Linked DNA regions of Homo sapiens: all the other regions are linked to region 1. Evidence: promoter capture Hi-C in 16 types of primary human blood cells and fetal thymus (Javierre and others, 2016). All regions are on one chromosome and are shown on one strand. Each heading gives the region's core, a stretch centred on a gene start or on the middle of the fragment in contact. The rest is flanking DNA. Distances are from core to core; before and after follow the strand shown. Region 1 holds the start of RMND1 (required for meiotic nuclear division 1 homolog). Region 2 overlaps SYNE1 (spectrin repeat containing nuclear envelope protein 1). Region 3 overlaps SYNE1 (spectrin repeat containing nuclear envelope protein 1). Region 4 overlaps SYNE1 (spectrin repeat containing nuclear envelope protein 1). Region 5 overlaps SYNE1 (spectrin repeat containing nuclear envelope protein 1). Region 6 overlaps SYNE1 (spectrin repeat containing nuclear envelope protein 1). Region 7 overlaps SYNE1 (spectrin repeat containing nuclear envelope protein 1).

Region 1 (2,830 bases), core at 153-2,652:
GGACGGGATGACAATGGCGGTTTTGTGTAATAGAAAGGGGGGAAAGGGGGGGAAAAGATTGAGAAATCGGATGGTTGCCGTGTCTGTGTAGAAAGAAGTAGACATGGGAGACTTTTCATTTTGTTCCATACTAAGAAAAATTCTTCTGCCTTGGGATCCTGCTAATCGGTGACCTTACCCCCAACCCTGTGCTCTCTGAAACATGTGCTGTGTCCACTCAGAGTTGAATGGATTAAGGGCGGTGCAAGATGTGCTTTGTTAAACAGATGCTTGAAGGCAGCGTGCTGGTTAAGAGTCATCACCACTCCCTAATCTCAAGTACCCAGGGACACAAACACTGCGGAAGGCCGCAGGGTCCTCTGCCTAGGAAAACCAGAGACCTTTGTGCACTTGTTTATCTGCTGACCTTCCCTCCACTATTGTCCTATGACCCTGCCAAATCCCCCTCTGCGAGAAACACCCAAGAATGATCAATAAAAAAAAAAAAAAAAAAAAACACAACCAGCATCCATTCTCTTATCTTCCTCCACTTTGCATTTCTCCATTGTTTAACATCACTTGCACACCTTTAATTTTTAGTTTATTAATTCATACTGCAAACGAACTCAGTTCTTATCATGTGCCAGGTATTGTCCTAGTTGCTGACAATACAGCTGAAAATAAAATAGACAAAAATCCTATCTTTTGAATCTTTTGAACCTTGCATTGGGAGTGACAGACAAAACGAGGTAAATCAGTAAAATACGTGAGACACAAAGCTAAAGGAAAAAAATAAGAGGAAAGGGCAGATTTTTGTGTCTTCCTTCCAGAATGGAAGCTCCCTGAGGATACGGATTTGTGTTTTTTCCTATTATATCTCCTGACAATAGCGCCCAGCACATAGTAGGCATTCGATCGAATTTTTAAAATGAAATACAAGGCAGTTACTCAGTTCCCGGGCACATTTCAACTTTTAGAGAACAATTACACCAATTAAGAAAATCGATTACAGCTAGGCTACGATTCGAGAGCTAAGTGGCGCTCATCTTTGGGAGTATGCCGTTCAATTCCTCAAACTCAAAATTATTTTATCGATTTCTACAGTTACCGCGGTGCACTGGCTCAAAAAAAGGGTTCATTAATTGAGTGCTTTTTACTCCCAGCTAAGCTGACCAAAGATCACGGTAAGAGGCAAAGGGTCACAGCCGCACTGGCGTAACCCGTAACTGTACACGTTCCGGGCGGCCAGGAGCCAGGGCGCAGACCTCCAAGCCGGACCACTCGAGCTGCTAAAGAAAAGGCAATACACTAACCTCTCCGCCGGAAGAGAAGAAGGAAGCGCCAGGGACGCACGCTTCCTCGGCAGGACTGCAGGGAAAGAGCCGCACCCCCAGCCTCTCACTACTGCAGCCAACCCATCTCCTGGAAGGGCGCTCCCGCCCACCCCCGCTACTGCGCAGCCGCACTGAACTCTGGTCCCACTTAGCGGGAGAAACTCGGGCCACGTGACTGTCTGACCACGTGAGCCGCGTCGCCGCGACCTCTTCCGCTCCCTAGGCCCTGGGACCTCCCGGTCCCTTGCCTGCTTCCGGCTTTCGCTCGCTTCCATATCCGCTCCTCTAGTCGCCCTCCGCTGGCCCCGCCTTCGTCCCCGGAAGATTGGGTCTTCTGGCGAGCCACTGTTTGCCGTTTGATCGGGCACCAAATAAAGTTTCTTTATTCAAAAGCACTTTTTTTTTAAAGCCACACCACCCCCATTCTCAGCTCCTCCTTCGCGGCGGTACCGCCTCTGTTTCTGCGGCGATTGAACAGCCGAGCTTTGCGGCCGGGATCGCGGAAAGTGATGGCTGTCGTCCCGGCGTCTCTCTCAGGACAGGACGTGGGGTTAGTCTAGCTTTTCTCCTCCCCACTTTTGCGGAAAGCCGGGCCTCGCCGGGAGCCTGTGGGGACTAAGCGGAGGGCGCCCGCTCCCCGGTGGGCTGCGTTCGAGTCCCGCCGCCGGGCGCGGCTTTCCGGGGCGCCTTTGCGGGTTTCGCGGACTGGCTCGGAGGCGAAGGGAGGCGGCCCCGGGGAGGGAGCCTGCCCGCGGCGGCTGCTCGTAAGGATCAGGACAGGGGTCAGCTTCGCGGTCTGTTCCTGGCGGTCACTTTTTATTTATTCACTTTAATAGACGCGCTTTGGGGGCGTTAAAATTCTGCGTAAGAGTTGGGGATCTCAGCGCTATTAAGAAACGGGTTTCTCCCTGTTGTTGATCAAATCGTAATCTCACAGTAAGAACTGTCTAGTTTTTTGCTTTATAGTCGTCACGCTACTGATTCTTGGGTAAAGTTGTGGGTGACCGTGCAAATAACATCCATTTGCATAAATCGAATGGCCAAATTTATATTTGAAATTTGTCCTTACTTCAAAATATTGCAAAAGACGAGAACACTTTGAAGAAAATAAACCTGGGCAGAAAGTAGGTTGAGGCCAACAAAGTGGCGCCAATGGCCCCAAATTGAGGCAGTCACTGTTTCAGGTCATGCAAGTATAGAGAGTATCTCCTTCAATTTTGCGCCCTAGGGCTTCTGGCCTCACTCCAGTCCTGGCCAGAGACTTTGTTCCAGAGGTGCAGGAAATGTAGTAGTTAGGAAAACAGTAATACTTTCCAATTAAAGTAAAATCTCAAAAAAGGACTTACTATACCTACTGCCTGGGAAAATTCAAGTGACAGTTGATTTAATGTTCCTGCTCACCCTCTGAGGTATTAGTGATTTCTTTTATTAATGATTTTTAAAAATTAAATTCTGATCAACGTAGTTATTATGCGCATTAAAACCTAATCACTGTTTTGGGTGGTACTGAAAGCACC
Region 2 (2,830 bases), core at 223-2,722, 900 kb after region 1:
CAGGGCCTTTGTTGATGAATATGTATCTTCACTGGATGTTAGTGAAAGGAAGGCTATTTTGGCTGGCGAAGTTTGCTGGTCTATGCTGAGCACCTGGTGACCCACTCACCAGCACTTGGAGAAGCAGGGCCTGGTATCTGGAAGTCAGCTGGGTGGCCTGGCAACCCATTCTGCTGTTCACGTGGCTCTCGTCCAGTATCTCCTGAGCTCTAGCTCCCACTTCCTCAACTTCATCTCTGTATGCAGTCACTTCTTCGTGCCACTTCTGAAATGACAAAGTATCGAAGGGAAAGATTCAATCTTAGCCATTCGAATAAGCCAAATGTATATCTTCTTATAGGAAATGGTTTCAGTGTAGGTTTAGAAGATGTTTATTTTGAGATTTAATTTTGAAAATGCCATATGTTATCTTCATAAATATTATATTACAACAATGTGATACAAACTGTACACTTGAGTTGGATAGTTTTCTGTATCTATTACACTTCAATTCAAAAATTAAAAATGAAAACAGGCCAGGTGCGGTGGCTCACGCCTGTAGTCCCAGCTGCTTGGGAGGCTGAGGCAGGAGAATCGCTTGAACCCAGGCTACAGAGGTTACAGTGAGCTGAGACCGCACCACTGCACTCCAGCTTGGGCGACAGAGCAAGACTCTGTCTCCAAAAAAATTAAATAAAATAAATAAACATGAAAACAAAGTGGCATAATTTTTTAGACCTCCTATTGTACCTAGATCAATTTTAAAATGGGTGGATAATGAAAATAAATTCCTAAGGCTCAAGCATTATTTTAGATGTGTGCACTAAAATTGCATAAAACTTAGAATAAAACTAATTCTCAAGTACTATTTCAATGAACTATATTGGAGCAATTTCATATCAGAACCATAAACTTAAATTATTGTAATACAAGCATTCATGTATCTTCACAAAACAAGGTAATAGGGTATGGAAAGAAAATATAAAATGGTTACATTAAACTACCTTGTATCAAAGACTAATTTATGAAATAATTGCTGTAAGAGGAATGCTCCATTGTGATTTATTTTAACTTTCTAGGTAATCAAAAAGATTTTGCAAAGCCTAAGCTTTGGATAAAAGTTACTAAATATCTTAATGAAACAAACTATGCAAGGTAACTGTAGCTTTGACAAAGATCAGGAATCTACATGAGTTGTACCTTCATCTGATGTAATTGTATCTCCTTGGTTGCCCTGTTAGACTGACGTCTGGTCCTGGGACTAACTTTCTCCTCTGCTGTTTTGAGCCATTCATCTACTTGCTGAAACTTTTGCTCCATTAGCCTCAATTTGTTCACCACGTTATTGAACTGAGTTCGAGTCTCGGACAGCCTGTGCTGGTAAGCCTGCCAGTCTTGCCGGAGAGACTCTAAAGCCCGGTCCTCTGCCTGTGGGATACCTGATGGGATCACATCCTCTCTGGTGTGCAGCACTGAGTTCAACAGGGCCTGCCCCTCTGCACAGTGTACCTGTAGCTCCTGCAGAGAAAAAGGTATGGCTGTCACTCTCAATCATATTTCACACTTGCATGGGTTAGCATGTCTTGCCCAAGCCAACTGTGCCCACTTGAACTTCTCATTAGAAAAAAATGATTTTATTATTATGCCCTATACAAAAATATGTCCCTAACCATATTTTCTCCGAAGTCAGAAGGATTCCTAAAACTTTTTCAATTAAAATAATCAACATACACACACACACACCCCAATATTTTTCTCAATCAACAGTTTCCCAAATTTGACTTTTTAGCTAACAGGCAAAAACACTTGTGAATAAAGGGCTATTGTTTAAAAGAATGACCTAGGCTTATTATAGCTCATAATCTGCTTAAAGTGACTTAAGCTTCTTGCTTTGACATTGAATAGCTCAGTGCTACATTTGTGACTGAGAAAGAAACAATGAACCTTCTGCTTCCTAAGGAGGAATCTTTTGCCAAAGCTGTACTCTAGGCATTGTGGTGGCCAAGAAAATTTGAAACTGGAGAGTGCAGGGCACACAAACTTGGGAAATTGGTTCATCACACCTGCCCACCAGGTGCTCTGAGGTGCAAATAAATTTCCTCCACCAAAGCCTAAACCCCAAAGATTTACCCTACAAATTTAGTATAAATCAAGTTTTGAAGAGCATATGCTATTTTTTATAGGACAAAAAGAATCTTATATCCTTAAAGATATTGGTAAAACAACATGGCACACTTATATTTCTGGTGATAAACATAAATCTATACTGTCACTTGATCTGATCACCCAAAGTAAAATAAATCAAGTCAAATCCCATCAACAATGTTAAAAATATCAGTATATGTAGTTAAAACATAGTATTTCTCAATACTATATTTTAAAAACCACTTAAGATTGCTAAAATATTTTTCTTACAAAAATAACATTCTCACATGGTTTCAACTAATAGAAAATTTTTCTTCAAATATGATGTCACTTCAAGCACAGTATAATGTAAAGACATATGCACATGGAAGGAGAAGAACTATAGATATACATGGTAAAATATTAATCAAATTGGCAACAAATACATAAACTTTATTCTAAAATTCTTAGACTTTTTTTCAAGATAATTTTTTATAATTATTTTCCTAATTCAAGGTTGGCAAACTTTTTCTATGAAAGGCCTGATAGTAAATAATTTGGATCTTGTGGGCCATAGGTCTCTGTTGCAATGACTTAACTCTGCCATTGTAGTATGAAAAAAACCACAGACGATACATAAATAAATGGGTGTGGCTGCATTCCAATAATATTTTATTTAAAAATACAGACACTGTGGCCCTGGACAGTAGTTGACTAATCTATTAAT
Region 3 (2,830 bases), core at 187-2,686, 880 kb after region 1:
AACCTGTTCCCTTAACTAAATATCCTGTGACTAAGAATGCCTAACTTTCTGGGAATGCAGCCCAGCAGGTCTCAGCCTCATTTTACCCAGCCCCTATTCAAGATGGAGTCGCTCTGGTTTGAACGCCTCTGACGGAAACCTTCCAAATGTCAGAGACAAGGCAAAGTAGCTTGGGTCACCAGGTGGGCAGTGGTGTTATGTACAGAGTTGGGGAAGGCTGGAGTACATTCGCAAAGTGGAAAGGCAATGGTTTAGATTCATCTACTCCCTGCATACACAGCAAAAAGAAACCTCTAAGATACCATCTCTGCCAGCCCAATATGTGGCCAGAGGATCATTTCTTTGGATAGTGTTTCCTCCAAGGGGTTGGTTCATGGACTTCCATACTTCCCCACTGCTCACTCCCATTGCCATTTACTCCCACTACCCAAAAAACACCTCTTAAATCCCCTGACTGATATATGAAATTTTGTCCTTAAAGCTAGGTTCAATCACAATTAAAATGTTAACAAGAGTATCATCTTGAATGTTTTTATTATGTGTATATCTAAAACAAATACAGCAAAATATTGGCATTGTTTATTATCTCTGAATGGTAGTATCATAAGTGATTGTGATTTAAATTTGCTTATTAAGACATTTCTGTATTTTCTAAGCCTTTTATAATAAACAAAACTTTTCTTATAAAATACATTTTAAAAAATTAAATTTCTAGGATGGTTCACAAATTTTTTTAAAAAAGAGTTCATGCTTCTGAGAAAAAATAAATCTTATTATCCCGATCCCTATTCTCTTTTTTCTCTGTACTTGCAAACAGCACTCCAGTAGACAATATATTATTATTGACTCATAATCACAGAGAAAAAACATCTTTAAGTTTATTTAAAATCTGACCCAACTTCCAATTAAGTTAATACACTTATAATTTTCTTTTTTCCCTTTTTTTTGAGACAGAGTCTCACTCTGTGGCCCAGGCTGGAGTGCAGTGGCATGATCATGGCTCACTGCAACCTCCGCCTCCCAAGTTCAAATGATTCTCGTGCCTCAGCCTCCCAAGTAGCTGAGATTATAGGCATGTGCCACGCAAGGCTAATTTTTGTATTTTTAATAGAGATGTGGTCTCACCATGTTGGCCAGCCTGGTCTCAAACTCCTGGCCTCAAGTGATCTGCCCACCTCAGCTTCCCAAAGTGCTGGGATTACAGGCATGAGCCACCACACCCGGCCACAATTTCCTATATATTTTAAATTATTTAAATTATATATAAATATGTAATACAAACTGCATTTATATTATACTTTAAATTAATTACATATAGCTCAAATATATAACTAATGAATTGATAAGCTTACAGTCCTACAGTTTTAGCATAATATGGTGATGAAAATCTAAAAAAAGAATAATGTTCCATGTTTGCTTAGTCACAGAGTTTTCTGACTAAGCAGTCTACTCTGTAGACTAAATCACACCTGCTTTTCTCAGGAATAATGTAGAGTATGAATGTCTTCTGATGAAAGTGGCCATCTGAAGCTTCAGTAATATATTTGAATGTCTACTTTATAATCTGTTTTCCCTGGCACCAAATGATGTTTGTTCAGATTTGCTATTCCTTAAAGCAGCGGTCCCCAAACTTTTTGGCACCTGGGATGGGTTTTGTGGAAAACAATTTTTCCGTGAATGGGGCTGGAGGGGGATGGTTTCAGGATGAAGCTGTTCCACCTCAAATCATCAGATATTAGTTAGATTATCATAAGGAGCATGCAACCTAGATCCCTTGCATGCGCAGTTCACAGTAGGGTTTGCACTCCTATGAGAATCTGATGTGGCCTCTGATCTGACAGGAGGTGGAGTTCAGGCATTAATGCTTGCTCGCCTCCCACTGTGCGGCCAGGTTCCTAACAGGACATGGACTTGTGCTTGTCCATAACCTGGGGCTTGGGGACCTCTGCCTTAAAGAGTTGTATTAATGTCTAAGGATTGACAGACACTCAGGCATATTGAAGTGAATACACTGAACACATTTCAGGTTTTCTACTCTGTTGGCCTCTTTTATCTCCCTTGGGGGCAAATTAATTCCCACCTTAACTTGTGAAACCATGTTCTGTGCAATGTTCAGCTCCAGCTCAGAGTGCCTCCTCTTCATGTTCTGCAGTTGCTGATCAGCATCTTGCAGGTAAATCCAGAGCTCAGACTTCAGGTGCTTGATCTCTTCCCAGCCCTGAGTTAAGTTCTGGGCCTGGACAAGCTTTTGTTCAATCTTGAGAAAACACAGAGATAAAAGTTAGCAACCATACATGGAAACATTTATGGTTAATGAATCAGAGATGGAACTTTCCAGCTGGCCTGTGCACTCATTTGACACACACATACACACGCAAACTCACACACACAAATACATAAATTTAAAAAGTACTTCTTTATTTGCTTCAGGAAAAGCAGATTTTTTTTAAAAAAATGTAGGGTTCCTAAAGACTTTAAATGTCTACAAGTTATGCTATATGGTTTTAATCAGTGTTGTGAAACTCTAATAATTTTTTTTTTTTTTTGAGACAGAGTTTCGCTCTTGTTGCCCAGGCTGGAGTGCAATGGCACGATCTCGGCTCACAGCAATCTCTGCCTCCCGGGTTCAAGTGATTCTCCTGCCTCAGCCTCCTGAGTAGCTGGGATTACAGGCTTGCGCCGTCACACCCAACTAATTTTGTATTTTTAGTAGAGACAGGGTTTCTCTACGTTGGTCAGGCTGGTCTCGAACTCCCAACCTCAGATAATACGCCCGCCTTGGCCTCCCAAAGTGCTGGGATTACAGGAGTGAGCCACTGCGCCCAGCGAA
Region 4 (2,830 bases), core at 124-2,623, 870 kb after region 1:
TATCAAAAGATCGTTTCCCTGTTAAAATCTGTCAAAGCTTTCTCAGTGACCTTAGGATAAAGCTCAAGTTCTTAATATGATTGAATTATTCCTCTTTTTCTTTCTTTTTTCTTTTTTCTTTTTTTTTTTTTTCCAAGGTCTTACTGTCACCCCGGCTGGAATGCAGCAGCTGGATCATGGTTAATTACAGCCTCAATCTTACGGGCTCAGCCTCCCACCTCAGCCTCCCACGTAGCTGGGACCACAGGCACGTGCCAACCATGCCCTGTTAAATTTTTGAATCTTTTGTAGGTTTCACCATGTTGCCCAGGCTGGTCTCAAACTCCTAGGCTCAAGTGATCCTTCTGCCTCAGCCTCCCAAAGTACTAGGATTATAGGTATGAGCCACCATGCCAGGCCTTCCTCTATCCCTTCCTTCACCCTCCCCTGGGTAAGGAGGTGGCAAGTGGGGATTCTAGCAGGCAAAGTTTCAAACTATAATTAATGGGTTACCAACTCCTGGTTTTAACTTGTCCCTGATTATATTAATCGATTTCAAAAGTCTAGTCTATATGCAACAATTATTACAGACGTGCAATCTGAATCTATTAAGTCAACGTAAGCTGATATATATGTAGCTTACTTAAAGGTACTTGAATTCACCCCAAACTGATTTCATAAAACACGTTAATGGGTGAATATTCATTCTACAAAATACTTCTCCATTTTACAAAATATTCACTCCAAAGTCCATTTGTAGGACCACCTTTGTCAGTGACTTTATCATATGGCTGGATATAAAGTAAGTGCTGGTTTATACCTAAGTCTTAGGATCACAAGTGTAGCATGAAATAAGCTACACCTAAACTACTCTCTCATTGTCCATTTTATCTTTTTATTTATGTTAATTTATTTTCAAAAGAGAAAAGCAGAACATGGAAGTTTCTGCCTTACACGATTTGGATTTCTGGCCCGGAACACATACCTGATTGAGCTTGGAGAGCCGATTCTCAGCTTGTCTAATGGTCTGCTGGTGAAGTTCAGTCAGTTTTCCTATCTTCTTGGCCAGTGGCTTACCCAGTTGGCCATTCTGTTCCAAGAATTTCTGTACTGCTGCATCTAATTCCATTAACTTTGAATTACAGCCATCTAATTCCTCTCCCAGCACCTTGATGGTCACCAAAATGAAAGAACATTAGAGTACAGAAAATAAATTTCTCCAGGTTTCCCGAGATCAGACTGATTTTTGTCAAAGCCAAATATTATAATGAATAATTCTACTATAATTCTACTATGATCAGGTCATTTTTGTTTCTTCGGTTGGAAAGGCAGGGCAGGATATGTTGTAATGCTGGTGTTTATTTCCTATGAGGCTGAGTGAGAAGGCTAACATTTTCCTTCTGCCCCACCCAAAAAGGATTAGAGTCCCTGAACTCATCAACAGAGGAAGAACACAGATTTAGCTACCAAGGACACAATTCAGTTTGGAATTTATATACTTGTATTCCTAAATCATCACTTAGTCCTTTGACGCTCTTCTTTCGTACACACTCATGCATGTATATTTATTAATACTGTTCAATTATAATGATCAATTATGTAAGAGGATCTGTGTTGCTTCAGTTACAAAATTTCTTTACCACCTGCTGTTACTATTTGGTTTTAAAAAAGGTTCCTAAAAGGTTTTTATCCTATATCCCCAAGTAAAACTGACTCCAAAAACTATTTAATTCATTCAGTAGTACCCTTTAAAATTCTACTTCTTACCTTTTGGTCAGTTTTAGCTTGAACTACATTATCTGTCTTCGCTTTCAGCTTAGTTAGAATAGTTGTGAGGTCTTTAGCTAACTTCTGAATTTGCCGGCTGAGTTCCTGGCTCGTGGCCTTGCTCTGCTCAACTTCTTTTATTTTGTCTTGGATCTAAAAAAATCAGTAAGAACAGCAAAACAAGCCATGGTTAAAAGTGAATAATAGATACTAAAAATCTCAAATGATGTTGACAAGACACATTTTAACTGCTTTGGCATTGAAACACCTGGTCACACCAGCGATGTGCGATTAGTTACAAGCCCTCCTGGCTTTCCCTGACTTCACTATCTTTAAGTATTTACTGCACTCCTTGTGTTCCAGCAAAGATACAAGCAATGTGTGTAGAGAAATTCACTTATTAAATATTTACAGAATACTCATTATAGATGGTTGTGTAGACAGCTGAGTTTGAATCCTATCTTCTCCATTAACTAACGTAATGACCTTGAGCACACAAACTCCTCTAAGCCTTTTTCTTCATAAGATGGAAAATCCTCCCAAACAGTTGGAAGCACACTGATTTGTTTCCAAGCACCTTTTAATAAATGACTCTTAATGATCTGTTAACTCTTTTTGTAACTTTCCGACTACAGCTCTATAGTATGCCAACCAAGCATTAAGTACATCCAATGGAAAGGAAGGTGAAAAAAGACAGTTCGCATTTACAAATTTCCAGTGACTTTGGTTTGATTTGATAACAAACATTCACACTGTTGCTTAGAATAAAATGCCGAAGAAAAGACATTAAAGAGAAGAAACATTTCTTTATGTAGTTAAAGGTCTTTAAAAAAACCTCTTTAGTAGGGAGAAAACACACCATTAAAAGAGAGTTAATGGTGTGTTTTGGCCTTCATTATTTTGAGTGTCAAAGTAAATGAAATACATATGAATAAGGCTATGATAGGAAAATTAATCCAGAGAAAAGCTTAAATTTTAACTAAAAAAACAAACAAACAAACAAAGAAAAACCATGGCTGTGCACAGAGGTGCACACCTGTAATCCCAGCACTTTGGGAGGCTGAGGCAGGCAGCTCACTTGAGG
Region 5 (2,830 bases), core at 95-2,594, 840 kb after region 1:
AGAAGGCTCCAGCCGTCTGAGAAACAAATGTAGCAGTGTCATGCGGTAGAATGAATTCAGACTGGGACAGCTGAGATTCTAGCGAAATTCTCCTCTTGTGTAGCTATATAATTGGAGCAAATAACTTATATCTTGCACACTGGTTCACTCATTGGTCCAATCTTGGGTGGGATTGAGGATTATATGAAATAATATTTGAGTGACTATGACAGCTTCTACCCATTTTGTTGTTGTTCCTGAGGTCTCCAGATGAGTCCCCAACATTTATTGATGATATTGGAACATGGAGACTGCTTCCTCTTTATTCCTAACCCTGTCACTGTCTTGAGTGGATTACTCTTCATGTCCTTAATAGCTTTAGATCCATTGATCCTCACTCACTCCCACCCCACTTCAGTCCTCCACACCCTTGTATGCTGTCATCGCTCAGCTGGACTTGTAGTTATGTCTGAAGTTACTTAAACCCCTTTCTTGCCAAGACTCTTGTTTCTCTTGCTCTTTTAACCTTTACTTCATCCACTTGGAAACCCGCAAACATGACTCAATCCAGAGTCATTTATGCATGTGTGTGTGTTACTGACACACACACACACACATACACACACAAACACGCACACACACACATACACATGCAATCCAAGCTGTCAAGGAGATACTGCAACTTCTCAAATTTTCAAAAGTCTATGTATATTCACACTCACCCTTATCTTATGCTTTCCAGTTTCACTGCTTAAACCTGACTCTCCCACAGACTCTGAGAATCCCATAAACTGCTTTTTCAAGGATCTTGGTCTATTAACATCCTCTCTGGCTTTGTTGACTTTCTCTCTTCCATCCAAAAACACCTGCACGCACTGTTTCTTTTATTTGTTTTCTTGAAGGATATCACATTTTCTAAAAAGTCCACAGTTCACAATGTGACGGATCGTCACACGTGAATGCACTTGCACACACAGGCTCCATCCTAATTTCTTTGTTTTCTCCCTTTCATTTCATAATCCAACTTCTGAAAGGGTGATTTTCATGGGACTTTCTCACCCTCGATCCACTTCTAAATTCCAGTTTGGACTTTGATCCTGATGACTGCAGAGCTTGCTCTCACCAGCTTCTTCTCTTTGACAAAAAATGATGAATTTTCATCCCTTCCCTTGCCAGACCTCTAGCATTCAATAGCACTGACAAACCCTTTCCGGAAACACTTTCTAAAAAATCTCTCTGTTCTCCTCCCAGCTTTCTAGTCATTCACTCTTTCTCTTTTATAGTTTGTTTTCCACTCACTCGCCAATATTGGTGAATTGATAAGCTCCAGACTCACATATCCAGATGTTCATGCATATCCTGTAGGCTCTTCAAAGTCAACATTTCCAAAAGGAACCAATTTAGGAAAAAACAATGAAGTATTATCCATCTTGCAATAAATGGAATGTCTTCTCACCTAAGCTATAAACTTGGGATTTATTCCTGATTTCTCCTCCCCCTTAACATCCACTGCTTATGGGAGGATGGAGTGCTAACGATGCATATCCTGGCCACAGCCTTGGTTCAAGTTCTCATTACAGTAACAGCTTCCTAACTCAAAGGTTGCAAACTGGCAGCCTGTGGGCTGCCTCTGACCTGCACATATTTAGTGTGGCTTATACAATGTTTTAAATTGTTTAAAATCTCTCTTCATGAAGATAGAGAGATTTCATTAAAATTCACATTCGTAGCTTGTTTTGCAAACCACAAGGTATGGTAACACTGGGCCCTGTGTCTTTGTTAAAGTAATGCTAACAGAGGAGACATTGCCTCATTTATGTGGAGCAGGAGCTGTCCAGGCCTCTGTAGTCCCTCCTGGCCTCTGTAGTCCCTCCTGGCCTGTTTCTCTCATTTTTATCACCAGGGTGGACCAAGCATGAGACTGTGTAACTTCTGTTTCTAACAGCTCCCCTGGCTCTGAATTTGCACACTTCTATTCTCCTGTCCACATTGATCCAGAAGTATCAGTTCTGTACACAGCTTCTCATTAAATTCCCTCAGTGGTTAAATATTAGCTTCTGGAGGAAGCTGAAATTCCTTCCTGTGGCATTCAGGGCCTCCATGATGTGGTTCCCATATCCCTCTCAGTCTCATTTCCCCCTCTCCTCCTCCTCCAATGTTTCTCCAATTACACTGAAACTATTTGCAGTTGCCTGGATGGGCCATTTTGCTTCCCGCCTCCACAGCTTCCAACAGGTGGTTTCTTCTGCCTGAAAATCTTCATCTCACACGACCCAACTGCACTCCAACTGCCTAACTGTGCTCCTCCCTTAAAACTAAAGGGGGCCATCCTTGACCTCTGCCTGACTCCAGCCAGTTTAGGTGCCTTCTCTAGGCCCTCCCACAACACTGTACTGCCCTCGGCCACACTACCTGCCACCTTCTCTTGTAAGCATTTGCCTGTCCTCACACACACTGTAAGCTCCCTAAGGGCTGTCTGGGTCACTGCTTTTCGTCTTCATCCTGAGCACATTGTGGAGTGTTTGGCAAATAACAGGCAGGCCTATATGTTCATAATAAATCATGCTTGTAAATGCACTTATATAAATTCTATTATTTTATATACATGTAAAGTAATACTATTACTGTCCATAAGGAAAAGCAGGAATGCCTTTAAATGGTGTAAACATTTTACATTAGATACTCTATTATAAATACAGAAGGCTCCCAAAAGAGCTAGAATAAAATAAATTTATTACAAATAATTTTTTTCTGGCAGTCTCACTCTGTGTGTGTGTGTGTGTGTGTGTGTGTGTGTGTGTGTGTGTGCGCGCGCACGTGGCTCATGCCTACAGATATGAATGACAACTCC
Region 6 (2,830 bases), core at 121-2,620, 770 kb after region 1:
CAAAAAAAAAAAGATTTTTGAAGACAGATGGTAAAAGATCTGGGACTCAGATTTGAACACACTTACCTTAAGTTCTTCCATCCTTTCCTGGATTGTGGAGAGGTCAGATGAGTGGCTAGGGTCCTGCCCTTGTAGTATTTCTTCAGCTTCCACTATCCAGGCCTCCAAAGCTTCTAAACTCTTGGCAAAGGTTTCATAATCAAGAACTCCAGCCTTTTTTTCCACAAAAGAAATTGGTATTTCAGTTAAAAAAAAAAAAATTGGTATTTTAATAAAGTCTGGTAAAAGGGCAAGTGGATATTAAAATTATTTTTCATATTCTTGTATCAAATTGCCATTCTCTAGACGTTCCTATAAAAAAAGCTATAACAATTTAAATCTTCTTTATGTAATTTTTCTAAAAACTATAATTATTTCTATGCACCATAAGTCAATAACAATTCAAATTATTCTTTAAATACATGATCAAACAACACGTCTGAAAAATCTTCTGATTCTTGTAAAAGTCTGAGTTAAATAAACACGAATATTTATATTAAAGCCGCTTAGTGTTTATTAATTGAACAGGCCATGGTGGCAGGCATTGGTTCAGGGGCTTGCATCTTAAACCGATTTTAAAATTCCTTGGCAGAGAACAGCGCAAAACGTCCACCTTCATCGTCCCCACCAGAACTTCCAAGTTTGTTTACTTGCTATTTTCTTGAGTCTTGAAGGAGGCATTGTTGCCATGACAAGGAATTCTTTTTCTGTGTTTGTGCCCAGATATTAGAGAACAGCCAATATACAGAAGATACTAAATAGGAGCTCTGTACCTGTAATGAAGTCTGCTGTTTGCAGAGAGCTTGCTCCAGGGCACACAAGTGTTGACTCAAAGAGAGTTGATCCGATTGAATAGCTGATGCTGCGGAAGCATCCACTTGTTGCTTCAGTTGCTCTCCCAGCTCATGGAGAAAAAAGAGGGAATCTTTAACTGTGCCCAGTCCTTTGAGGAGGTCCTAGAAGAGGTGAAAATATGCCCACTCTGAAGCATGTTGATACTCCTTATCATAAACAGCAATCGGCAAAGGGCTACACATGTAGAAACACACCATTCCTACGGATCATATTATTAGGCTAAATAAACTTCACCTGTGGAAAAATGAACACGCACTGAACCCCATTTTTTAAAATGCTATGTTAATATTTTAAACATACATTATACACATATAACCTATGGCTATATATAATTACTCTTTTGTTAGTAAAAGCTATGTAGGTTCATTACAGGACCTTGGGGAAATGCAGAAAAACATACATAAACAAGAAAAAAAAAAAAAACAAACATGACCCAAGAGTAGAGCCAATAACTGGAAATATTTTGGCAGTTTTTTTCCTGCCTCTTTATGTAATTTGTATCAAATTGAAAACAAAATGTTATATTTTTCCTTTTTCTATTATTATCATACACACCAGGAATTTGTCCGTGGTGTCTTCTATATGTGTGGTCACATTATTGCAAGTACAGCAACCTCCTATCTCAGTAGGGTACAGAACACAGTGATGATTTTGGTGAGCAGGGGGTGAGAGTAGCCTGTATTCCCATTCTTTTCCATGGGATCTCTTTGCCTCCACTTTCTGTGGGACCCTCCTACAGGTTAAAAAATATAAGCCAATGGAAACTCCCTGTTTCTGCTTTCTATCCTATCATTGAGAGATAATAAGTGACTGCTTCTTCTACCTGTTGCTGGTATCCCACTCAGTCATGTTATGCCTAGGCAGTGACTTCTGTGAGAGAAAGAAGAACAAAGGGCTCTTTACGCTTGACACAGATAACAGACAAGGTGTATTTCAATTCAGGAGTATTGAAAATGACAGTTCTTGTACACACAAATTATGTGGATGAAAAAAGCACTGTATTATCTTTATTTTAAAATACCCATCTTTAGCTTTAAAGTGATTATTCAGGTTGAAGATATTAGAATAGGTTAAACTTTTATTTACATAGTTTTTATAGCTTGCCTAATTCTAATAAACTGATTTGGAAAAGTTTATAAAAAGATCCTCGTAACAAGCTCTTAAAAATAAAGACAAATAAGGACAAATAGTAAGAGCCATGTAATGCTTGAAACAAGAGAAGAGCTGTTCCTTAAACCCTTAAGTAGGTTATTGGCAGCTACAGTGAAAAAGAGAATTATTAAAAAGCCATTAAAAGAAGTATACCAGTAAATTAGGAGAGAAAGACTTCTTTCTACCATTAATATCTTAGATGAAACTATTGTGTAGATGCTTACATAGGAGTTAATGAATGTAAATGGACAACATCTGGAACAGAAGATTTTTTAAAGATAGAACACTATTCCCCATATGGTCATGTCTTATATTGACCACCCTAGAAAACACAAAGAGCCTCAATCTTTCACATTGACTAAATTCCACTAGGAAAAATGGGAAAACAACTCATTTTAAAAAATAAAACAATGGGAGGAGACCTCTTAGTCTGATGCATGTGCACCTGTGTTCTGAAAATCAGGCAGGCTCTTTGATCCTAAGACAGTTATTTTTGGGTAACTGTCTCACATAGAAAGACATACCAAAGCTTACACAGACCAAAAGCTAAACTTGGGCAGTCTAAGAAGGGCATGTGGGGAAAACAAGGTAGCTCCTGAACATACGTTGCAATCTTGAATCCATGTGGCAACCTCATCATCGGCAATGTCCTTGTTTGTGGCTGCCTTCAACAGCTCATTGGTTCGATCCTCCTGCTGCTGAACTGTCGAAGCACACTGTTTGGAGTAGTCCTTGTATCTTTGCCAAAGCTGAAGTAGGGCCTTGCTGGACTGTAGCTGCTCAG
Region 7 (2,830 bases), core at 202-2,701, 750 kb after region 1:
AGCTGTCTTCCTGGTGTGTCACCGGGTCATGTACCCCCAAGTCCACTGGCTCCAAGCCCAGTACTGCACTAGGACCCACCTAGGAGTGTAGTACTTGTGGCCTAGACAGCCTTTCAAATTTATGTAGGACCCCAGAGCATTTTAGCCCATGGTAGCAAGTGCTTGTCAAAACTCAGATTCTGTTGGCTGGGATGGGAGCTTCCCCTTTGGCTAGGTCTTGTGTAAATGCTCCCTCCGTGGGCATCAGCTGAGTTCTGCCTGGTATTGGCAGCACTGAGCTCCAATGCAATGCAGACCAACTGCTGGGCTCTCCTTCCTCGATATGCACAGATGCTCTCTCCGTGCCATGTGGCTGCTGCTGGGGCACCGAAAAGAAGAGGTGGTGTGGGCAATCCAAGGTTGTCTTTCCTACCCTCTTCATTGCCTCTTTCTGTACTATGAAGTTGAAATCAGGTAATGTGATTGCTCACCTGATTTTTTATTCTTATGAAGGCGCTTTCTTATGTAGATAGTTGTTACATTTGGTGTTCCTGCAGGGAGAACAGTCAGTGGAGAATTCTACTCAGCCATCTTGTTCTGCTTCCTCAGGTCAAATCGGGAATGTTCTTACTGCCATCTGCAATGACGAATCCTTTCCACAGGGTTTTCCATTTACTTTGCCCAGATCCATCATAGGAATCACTATCTATGGCAGCTATAGCCTCACAAAGTGTATTTCTTAAATAATAAGACTTGGAAGTTGAAATTATTCCTTGATCCATGGGCTACAGGATAGATATTGTGCTAGAAGGCATGAAGACAACATTAGTCTTGTACATCTCCATCTCCATCAGATATCTAGGGTGACTACGTGCATTATCAAGAAGTGGTAATACTTTGAAAGAAAGCCTTTTTTTTCTGAGCAGTGGGTCTCAAAAGTGGGCTTAAAATATCAGTAAAACTGTACTGTAAACAGATATGGTGCCATCTGGGTTTTGTTGTTCTATTTATAGAGCACAGGTAGAGTTAGCATAATTCTTAAAGGCCTTAGGATTTCCAGAATGTTAAATGAACACTGACTTTAAGTCACCAGCTCCATTTGCCCCTAACAAGAGAGTTAGCCTTTTCTCTGAAGCTTTCGAGCCAGGCATTGACTTCTTTTAAGCTATTAAATTTCTCAATGGCATCTTCTTCCAACATAGGGCTGTTTGATCTACCTCTAGCCTGGGCAACAAGAGCAAAACTCTGTCAGGAAGGGGAGAGGAGGGGAGGGGAGGGGAGAAGGAAGGAAGGTTAAAAGGAAAGACGGAAAGAAAGAGGGAAGGAAGGAAAGAGGAAGGAAGGGAGGGAGGGAGGGTAACCACTTCCATCAATGATCTTAGCTAGATCTTCTGCATAACTTACTGCAGCTTCTACTTCAACACTTGCTGCTTCACCTTGCACTTTTATGTTATGGAGATGGTTTGTTTCCTTAAAACTCATGAACCAACCTCTGCCTGCTTCCATCTTTTCTTCTGCAGTTACTTCTCCTCCCTCAGCCTTCACAGAATTAAAGGGAGTTACGACCTTGCTCCAGATTAGGCTTTGGCTTAAAGGAATGTTGTGGCTGGTTGGATCTTTTATTCAGACCACTCAAAGTTTCTCTGTATCAGCAATAAGGATGTTTTGCTTTCTTCTCATCCATGCATTCACTGGAGTATTACTTTTAATTTCCTTTCAGAACTTTTCCTTTGCATTCACAACCTGGCTGTTTGTGGCACAAGAGGCCTAGCTTTTGGCCTGTTCCAGCTTTTGACATGTCTTCCTCACTAAGCTTAATCATTTCTAGCTTTTGATTTAAAGTGAGAGACATGAGATTTTTTTCAATTGAACACTCAGAGGCCACTGTATGAATTGGCCTAATTTCAATATTGTTGTGTCTCAGCAAATAAGGAGGCCAGAGGAGAAGGAGAGAGATTGGGAACATTGTTGGTGGAGCAATCAGAACACATGCTACATTTATGAATTAAGATTGCTGACTTCTATGGGCACAGTGTGTGGTGCCACTAATTACAATAGCACCATCAAAGGTCACACTGACTGTAGATCACTGTAACAAATATAACAGTAAAGAAAAAGTTTGGAATATTGTGAGAATTACCAAAATTATGCAGACATATAAAGTGAGCACATGCTGTTGGAAAAATGGTGCTGGTAGACTTGTTCTATGCAGCAATGCCACAATCTTCAATTTGTAAAAAAAAAAAAAAAAACCAAAAAACAAAAAACAAAACATAGGATCTGTGAAACACACTAAAACAAGTGCAATAAAATGAGGTTTGCCCATATTTCATTTGCTTCCACATAATTTGATAAATTGCTAAGTCCTTCTGATAAAGTATGATTGCCTGCAGAATCTTTCTGCCATCTACTCATCATTTTATTGATTTAAAATTTTTTTTTCCTAAATTGAAGTTTAATCACTGTATTGATCTTCTTTACTTTAGACTGACTTCATAAACCTCTAACTTATCCTTTCTTTTTGTCCTGAATTGCTGATCACACTGATGAAATATTTTTAAAAACAGACACCTAAATTTAACTTTCATTTTCAAGCACTATAGAGTTGCTACATTCTGTGATCTATACTTATAATGTAATAGCTGAGAAGATCTGTTGCTGTTACTACTCAATTTAAAACAATGCACTGAATACATTTTCTGCAGGATCAGACATTTCTTTAAGTTACTAAAAAAGATTATGTACCCTGTCTTTTAGGGGAATGATTTAAGAAAAAAAAATTCATATAGCAATATTTGAATGAGTTGACATTAGTTTTTACAATATTTTGACCAATTACCAGTTTTGCAAT

Evidence for each region. The method cuts DNA at HindIII sites, captures the fragments that hold promoters and counts their contacts. A CHiCAGO score of 5 or more calls a contact.
Region 2: a fragment that was not itself captured here is called in contact with the fragment with the promoter of RMND1 in region 1 in 1 of 17 cell types (megakaryocytes); the score reaches 5.3 in megakaryocytes.
Region 3: a contact is called between a fragment that was not itself captured here and the fragment with the promoter of RMND1 in region 1, in 3 of 17 cell types (naive CD4 T cells, naive CD8 T cells and non-activated CD4 T cells). The highest score is 6.6, in naive CD4 T cells.
Region 4: a fragment that was not itself captured here is called in contact with the fragment with the promoter of RMND1 in region 1 in 1 of 17 cell types (M0 macrophages); the score reaches 5.0 in M0 macrophages.
Region 5: a fragment that was not itself captured here is called in contact with the fragment with the promoter of RMND1 in region 1 in 11 of 17 cell types (fetal thymus, naive CD8 T cells, total CD4 T cells and 8 more); the score reaches 12.0 in fetal thymus.
Region 6: a fragment that was not itself captured here is called in contact with the fragment with the promoter of RMND1 in region 1 in 3 of 17 cell types (non-activated CD4 T cells, naive CD8 T cells and naive CD4 T cells); the score reaches 6.4 in non-activated CD4 T cells.
Region 7: a fragment that was not itself captured here is called in contact with the fragment with the promoter of RMND1 in region 1 in 4 of 17 cell types (non-activated CD4 T cells, naive CD8 T cells, total CD4 T cells and 1 more); the score reaches 6.7 in non-activated CD4 T cells.

What each region holds. Positions count from the first base shown.
Region 1 is chr6:151,450,724-151,453,553 of GRCh38, forward strand. It overlaps RMND1 (required for meiotic nuclear division 1 homolog), which reads right to left and starts at 1,403. Exons shown (of 12, transcript NM_017909.4): 1 at 1,293-1,403. It overlaps DCPH1 (damage control phosphatase 1), which reads left to right and starts at 1,743. Exons shown (of 5, transcript NM_024573.3): 1 at 1,743-1,863. The coding sequence starts at 1,823. RefSeq lists enhancers at 1,131-1,180, 1,371-1,820 and a silencer at 1,981-2,100. The HindIII fragment of the contact is 8,083 bases long and covers 1-2,830 here.
Region 2 is chr6:152,353,480-152,356,309 of GRCh38, forward strand. It overlaps SYNE1 (spectrin repeat containing nuclear envelope protein 1), which reads right to left. Exons shown (of 146, transcript NM_182961.4): 67 at 1,180-1,497; 68 at 110-265. Among named protein-coding and RNA genes, the nearest start is that of SYNE1-AS1, 26 kb to the right of the region's middle. The HindIII fragment of the contact is 774 bases long and covers 1,086-1,859 here.
Region 3 is chr6:152,334,761-152,337,590 of GRCh38, forward strand. It overlaps SYNE1 (spectrin repeat containing nuclear envelope protein 1), which reads right to left. Exons shown (of 146, transcript NM_182961.4): 76 at 2,081-2,257. Among named protein-coding and RNA genes, the nearest start is that of SYNE1-AS1, 44 kb to the right of the region's middle. The HindIII fragment of the contact is 183 bases long and covers 1,346-1,528 here.
Region 4 is chr6:152,317,117-152,319,946 of GRCh38, forward strand. It overlaps SYNE1 (spectrin repeat containing nuclear envelope protein 1), which reads right to left. Exons shown (of 146, transcript NM_182961.4): 85 at 1,747-1,899; 86 at 965-1,147. Among named protein-coding and RNA genes, the nearest start is that of SYNE1-AS1, 62 kb to the right of the region's middle. The HindIII fragment of the contact is 2,676 bases long and covers 36-2,711 here.
Region 5 is chr6:152,295,037-152,297,866 of GRCh38, forward strand. All of the region lies in intron 93 of SYNE1 (spectrin repeat containing nuclear envelope protein 1), which reads right to left. Among named protein-coding and RNA genes, the nearest start is that of SYNE1-AS1, 84 kb to the right of the region's middle. The HindIII fragment of the contact is 5,328 bases long and covers 1-2,830 here.
Region 6 is chr6:152,218,191-152,221,020 of GRCh38, forward strand. SYNE1 (spectrin repeat containing nuclear envelope protein 1) reads right to left here. Exons shown (of 146, transcript NM_182961.4): 119 at 2,652-2,830; 120 at 813-995; 121 at 67-213. Among named protein-coding and RNA genes, the nearest start is that of SYNE1-AS1, 160 kb to the right of the region's middle. The HindIII fragment of the contact is 2,405 bases long and covers 169-2,573 here.
Region 7 is chr6:152,196,771-152,199,600 of GRCh38, forward strand. All of the region lies in intron 127 of SYNE1 (spectrin repeat containing nuclear envelope protein 1), which reads right to left. Among named protein-coding and RNA genes, the nearest start is that of SYNE1-AS1, 180 kb to the right of the region's middle. The HindIII fragment of the contact is 678 bases long and covers 1,113-1,790 here.